2 separate regions of the Homo sapiens genome follow, and region 1 is linked to region 2. Evidence: promoter capture Hi-C in human tissues and cell types (Jung and others, 2019). All regions are on one chromosome and are shown on one strand. Each heading gives the region's core, a stretch centred on a gene start or on the middle of the fragment in contact. The rest is flanking DNA. Distances are from core to core; before and after follow the strand shown.

Region 1 (3,215 bases), core at 93-2,592, 280 kb after region 2:
TATTTTTATTTTCTGTGGCATTCATGGCATGTGTAAGAAATTATCTAAAATAGTATTGATTAATAATGGTTTGCTTTAGTTCTTATATTAATATTATGGTAACCCTAATGACCTAGATGTTCTATAAAATATCAATAATGTACTCTTCTTGCCTGTAGGTTGCAGTGTTATTGATGGATACTCAGGGAACCTTTGATAGTCAGTCAACTTTGAGAGATTCAGCCACAGTATTTGCCCTTAGCACAATGATCAGCTCAATACAGGTATGAAATAAGCCCATTTTGATGATGTTTCTTTAACTAAAAATTATGAGTATATGTGTTTCTACATACATGTTATAATTAGATAAACAACAGAAATTGGGAATCATATATATTGTTTGACTCAATTAGCATACGAGTTCTCGTGATTTCTGTGAGAGTGGAATTGTTTTTGTTACTGTAGTTTAATTACTGACAAACTTTCAAATTGACTGCTTTGGTTAGAAAAGGTCATATTATCTTATTGGGATTTTTGTTGTTGTTGTTTAAAGCCTACAATAAACTCAGTAACATAAATCTTATATGCGTATACATTGAGACCATCTATTGTAAGTTATGTTTAATGAAACAGTGTTTATAAATATAAATTTTGTTCTACATAGCCAGTAGAAACATTTCTAAATGTAAAAACATTTACATGTGTTCATAGCTTTTAAAAACACCTTAATGTACATTTAGGAAAGTAAATAGCTTATATATAAAATTTATCTTTCTTTCCTTTCCTTTTTTCTTTCACTTTTTTAAAAGTCTTATTTTTGAGGTTATTGTGGGCTTTCTAAATTGTCCTGAAAATCCTTGTAGAGTTTTATTAGAACCATAGAATCCATAGCATAAAAGATTTTAAGACTATTTTTAGATATTTTCAATCCACTGGCAAAAGCAAAAAGAGAGTGGCCAAGGAACAGGGCAGATCAATAAAAAAAGGTAAGATAGCTTAAAAAGGCAGAAAAGGCAAAGCAGTTAGGATGAGTGAGTCAAGACTAAAATTACAAGCAAGCATAGAGAATGGAGCTAGTGAACCAGCAACAAGGGCGTCATATATGATTAGGACAACCAAGACAGGGTAAACAGAAGGAGGAAGGAAGACTGAATTTATTAAATAAAGGACTTTAAAGTAAAAGTCATAAAAAAAAAAGTCATGGTTATAACCTACTTAATCAACTTTTAAAAATTAACTTTTCTTTCAGTTGACAAATAAAAATTATATATATTGGCCAGGCACGGTGGCTCACGCCTGTAATCCCAGCACTTTGGGAGGCCGAGGCGGGCGGATCACGAGGTCAGGAGATCGAGACCATCCTGGCTAACACGGTGAAACCCCGTCTCTACTAAAAATACAAAAAATTAGCCGGGCATGGTGGCAGGCGCCTGTAGTCCCAGCTACTCGGGAGGCTGAGGCAGGAGAATGGCGTGAACCCAGGAGGCAGAGCACTTGCAGTGAGCCGAGATTGCGCCACTGCACTCCAACCTGGGTGACAGGGCGAGACTCCCGTCTCAAAAAAAAAAAAAAAAATATATATATATATATATGTGTGTGTGTGTGTGTGTAAATTATATATATATGTGTGTACATATATCTGTATATATATAATGTACAATATGATATTTTGAATACACACATTGTATAAGCCTTTAAAATACTGACTTAATCTAATTTATTGTAATTCACAGTGTAAGCCATACTTATACAAGCCTATTTAAACCAGATTGACTTTGCCTTATCAGTATTACTCATTATTTATATTTGACCTGAATACATTGAATATTTTCAGAGAAAAATCTGCTAATTCCTTAGTAATGACTTTTTTTAATTATGTGAGAAATGATGATCTGTTATTTAAATAAGTATACAGAGCATTCTTTTTATATCAGTACATAAATATATAAGCCTCCTTAACTTTTCTTTGAAGTTAATGATATTTATTTCCCTCAAAAAATGTCATCTTAATGCTGTTATCACATATATATATAAGGATGTGAGCATGATATTCAGAACCTAACTTCCATGTGATGAAACTCTGTATAGACATAAATAAAATGATTAATTGTGAAGAAGTCAACATGATTTTTCAAAACAAAATTTTCCATATGGCTTGCTGAGATTTAGATTGTTATTATTTTGTCTTGCTTGGAAGAATGAGTTTTTTTGACTAATTGCATAAATTAGGTTCATAAAATAATTTTAATATTCCATCTCCAGAGCAGGTGACTACTGTATTTCTGGAACCATTTTATAATCATTGTTCATTCCTTATTGTCTCTCAAGCTTATTTTACTTCTCTCTCAAGGTCTTACAAATATCATGTAAGCATGTACATAAGAGAGTCCATTTTGTGGTAACTGATATTTTTAAAAGTAGGGAATGATGAAGTAAGTGCTTAGGATGATGCCAGTTATCTTATCATTGTAATTTTATTTCTTTATCAAGGTATATAACTTATCCCAAAATGTCCAGGAGGATGATCTTCAGCACCTCCAGGTAACAATATTTATTTTCTTTTTTGTGTATCTGGTAGTCTTTGAAACATGTATAGCAGAACTTTGGGGAATGATTTCAAAACATAATCAGATTCTGATTCTGCTGTTTAAACAGGAACTATTGGCCCAATTAGCTGCCTGGTAATTACTGCCTGAGACTGGTTAATTTATAAAGGAAAGAGGTTTAATTGACTCACAGTTCAGCATGGCTGGAAAGGCCTCAGGAAATTTACAGTCATGGCCGAAGGCAAAGGGGAAGAAGGCACCTTCTTCACAAGGCAGCAGGAAGGAGAAATGCCAAGCGAAGTGGGAGGAGCCCCTTATAAAACCATCAGATCTGTGAGAACTCACTCACTATGGCGAGAACAGCGAGAACAGAGAACAGCGTGGGGGAAACAGCCTCCATGATTCAATTACCTTCACCTGGTCTCTCCCTTGACACGTGGGGATTATGGGGATTACAATTTAAGATGAGATTTGGGCGGGGACACAAAGCCTAACCATATCAATAAGTAACTACCTTTCTCCCTAATTTAACATCAAATTTAATATATTTTTTAGAAAAAGAGCCACATTGCAAGTCACAGACATTTAAAAAAAACACAGCTGAGGTGATAAGGTTCAATCTAGCCTCAGGAAAACTACAGAGCAATCACTGCTCCAAAAGGAGCAGAAACAAAGAAGCAGAGTTTCGGT
Region 2 (2,933 bases), core at 195-2,694:
AAAAGAACTGTCCACATGCCCCATAACAAATCACAATCGCTATTACTGGTATCCCACTCTACTCCCCCTATCCACCAACACGCAGCAGCCAGAGTCAACTTTTAGAACATCAACATTTAATTATTAGCCTCTTCTTTTTTTCTTTTCTTTTCTTTTTTTTTTTTTTTTTTTTTTTGCGAGACAGAGTCTTGCTCTGTCGCCCAGGCTGGAGTGCAATGGTGCGATCTCAGCTTACTGCAATCTCCGCCTCCCAGGTTCAAGCGATTCTCCTAAGGCTCCGGAGTAGTTGGGATTACAGGCGCCCACCACCACGCCAGGCTAATTTTTTTGTATTTTTAGTAGAGACGGGGTTTCACCATGTTGGTTAGGCTGGTCTCCAACTTCTGACCTCAGGCGATCCGCCCGCCTCGGCCTCCTAAAGCGTAGCCTCTTCTTAAAACCCTTTTAAATAGCTTCCCGTGGCTCTTAGAATAAAAGTCAACGTGTGGTTAAAATAAACTAAAAACCTTGCTGTGATGTAGTCCTTCTGGGTCATTCCACACCATATGTCTTCCACTAAACTTCAGTCACACTCATATGGCCCACCTTCTAGTCGTCAAAATAGCCAAAACCTCTCCAAGCCTTACAGCCTTCACACAAACTGTTTCTTCTACAGAGGACAGAGAAAGACAATGGTTTCGAATGTGACGTCCAAACTATAAATCACAGGACACTGAATTCTGCGGGCTTTCATTAGCATAAGAGCTGCCTCCGACGGGGGCAACACTATGCGGGGTGTGCCAGGAACTGATTTAAGACTGTATTCAGATCTTCCAAGCAACGCCAAAGACTCCAGCTTATAAAGAGCATATTTGATTGCTTATACTGTGTGCTAGGTCCTTTTATCCTTCAAATGACCACCTACAGGAGAGACTAAGGTCCAATTCACAACTGAGCCTTTAAGGAGGTTAAGTAACTAGCCCAGAGTTCAACAGAAAGTGGACGGGTTGTTCAAAGCCAGAGCTACTCCCGACCTCTACTCTATACACTGCCTTTCCTCCGGCCCGTAAATACAACGAATGAACCTGCAGGTTGGTAGCTCCTGGGATCCGAGGTTGGAGTGCCACAGGACCCCAACCTGCTCTCACCCCGGGACAGGGAAATACGAACAGGGGCACAGGTCCACCACCAGGTGCCTCCGCGAGGGGCAGCAGCGCAGGCGGCGGGGAGGACCAGCGGCCACTCACCTGGTGCTGGCGCTGCGGCTACCTCCACACAGCGGTCTTGGCCTCCCAGACGCGAACCCGCACGCCCCAGGGGAGCCACCGGCGAAAAGCCCGCGGGCCCGTCCGCAGGCACCAACCAAATAACGCAGCGCTGGCACCATCCCCTACGCACGCTCCCCTCCCTCAGCGCTCAGAAGAAGCCACTTGACCCTCCACGGCCGAGGACCCGCGCTCTTTAGCCCCGCCCCTCACGCGGGGGCCAATGAAGTGGCGCGCCTTCGCCCCATGTGGGAGAGGCTGCGGTGGCCAATAGGCGCGCGCGTCGGAGGGCGAAGGGCCGGCCAGGGTGCCGCAGACGCGGGGACGCTGGCTCGCTCCCTCCCTCCCTCCCTCCGACGCTGTGAGTAGAGAAGCTAGGCCCCGAGCCGGGCGGGACTAGGGTGGTGGTTGTGTTCTGCCCTCGCCCGTCGCCAACGCTGGGCTGACTGAAAACCTGGCCCTTTGGGTCGCGCGTCTTCGACCTTCACCGCCATGCGGACATGGGGCCGTGGGAGAAACTCTGGGCGGGATTACGGTGAAAATTCTTGTTTGGGCGGGCCCTGCGGCTTCTTTCTTCCGGCTCGCCCTCGGCCCCGCCCCCGCCCCGCCCCCGCTCCAGCTCCAGCCGGGTCCTCGCTCGGCCCCGCACGCGGCCCGCGGTAGACGGAGGGCCTGGGCACCCACCGTCTCCATCCCGGCCCCAGCCCAGTCGAGCGTCCACTAGAAGGGCGCTCCCTGTCCGGCCCTAATCCTCGCTCCTCACGGAGGCTCTTTGTCACAGCGAAGACTGACAGCCCGCAGTCTTCTGGACTTCTTTTATGGGGCTCCTGGCGGTGCTATTCATTCAGTCATTGATTCGTCTTGTAAATATGGAGCGCCTGCTCTGTACTCGACCCGGCACTGGGTACCGGAAGAACCAGACAGCTCGGTTTTTGCCACCATTTATAAGTCTGTGTCCTTTTCTTGAGTACTGAACCGAGATACAGTTTTAAATGTGCTGTGCGGTCTCTGAGCAGCGACTCACCTGTGCAGGTCACTTCACCTGATTCCCTTTATGTAAAAATGAGGGCGATGGGCTGTGTAATCTCTAAAGGACCTTCTAACTCTTTAAAATTGTCACTGTGCCGGTGTTGCTAACACTCATTCTGTATGCTTGATGGCAGTTTTTAATTTTTAGGGTTAGGACAGCTGAACATAACAAATAGAATTATACAGATTTATTACCAGAAGGACTTCGTGTGCCTCTAAGAATCTTGGTTCCAGTCTTTGGTCAGGTAGCTCCAGGAAATCACTTCACCTCTTTGCCTCAGACCCTCCTCAGTGAACTAGGAATGATAGCAGTGTCTCCCTAGTCTTAGGGCCGTTGAGCGGATTACACGAGATAAGGTCAGCAGGTGTTTAGCACAGTGAAGCATTTGCTACGTGATGACATTTATTATGGTTAAAGGGTTTTACCACCAGAACAGTGGTACATAGTTTGCTTTATTTGTTAAAACAATGTAGAATATTGCCTGCTTGTTCCATCACAGATGAAAAAAAGAGATGGTTATTCAACTTTGTGAGGTAATTGTGGATTTCCATGCAATTGTAAGAATAGAGATTCTGTGTACCCTTTACCCAGTCTTCCCAGTGGTAGCATCTTGCAAAACTAGTACCATATCACAACCAGGTAATTGACATTCACACAAT

Evidence for each region. The method cuts DNA at HindIII sites, captures the fragments that hold promoters and counts their contacts. A contact is called where the count stands out against the background at its distance.
Region 1: a fragment that was not itself captured here is called in contact with the fragment with the promoter of L2HGDH in region 2 in 1 of the 25 tissues and cell types used here (dorsolateral prefrontal cortex).

What each region holds. Positions count from the first base shown.
Region 1 is chr14:50,591,377-50,594,591 of GRCh38, forward strand. It overlaps ATL1 (atlastin GTPase 1), which reads left to right. Exons shown (of 14, transcript NM_015915.5): 4 at 159-263; 5 at 2,470-2,520. Among named protein-coding and RNA genes, the nearest start is that of ATL1, 33 kb to the left of the region's middle. The HindIII fragment of the contact is 4,726 bases long and covers 1-3,215 here.
Region 2 is chr14:50,310,785-50,313,717 of GRCh38, forward strand. It overlaps L2HGDH (L-2-hydroxyglutarate dehydrogenase), which reads right to left and starts at 1,445. Exons shown (of 10, transcript NM_024884.3): 1 at 1,227-1,445. The coding sequence starts at 1,366. DMAC2L (distal membrane arm assembly component 2 like) reads left to right here and starts at 1,540. Exons shown (of 6, transcript NM_001382507.1): 1 at 1,540-1,605. RefSeq lists silencers at 1,505-1,634, 1,695-1,924. The HindIII fragment of the contact is 14,916 bases long and covers 1-2,933 here.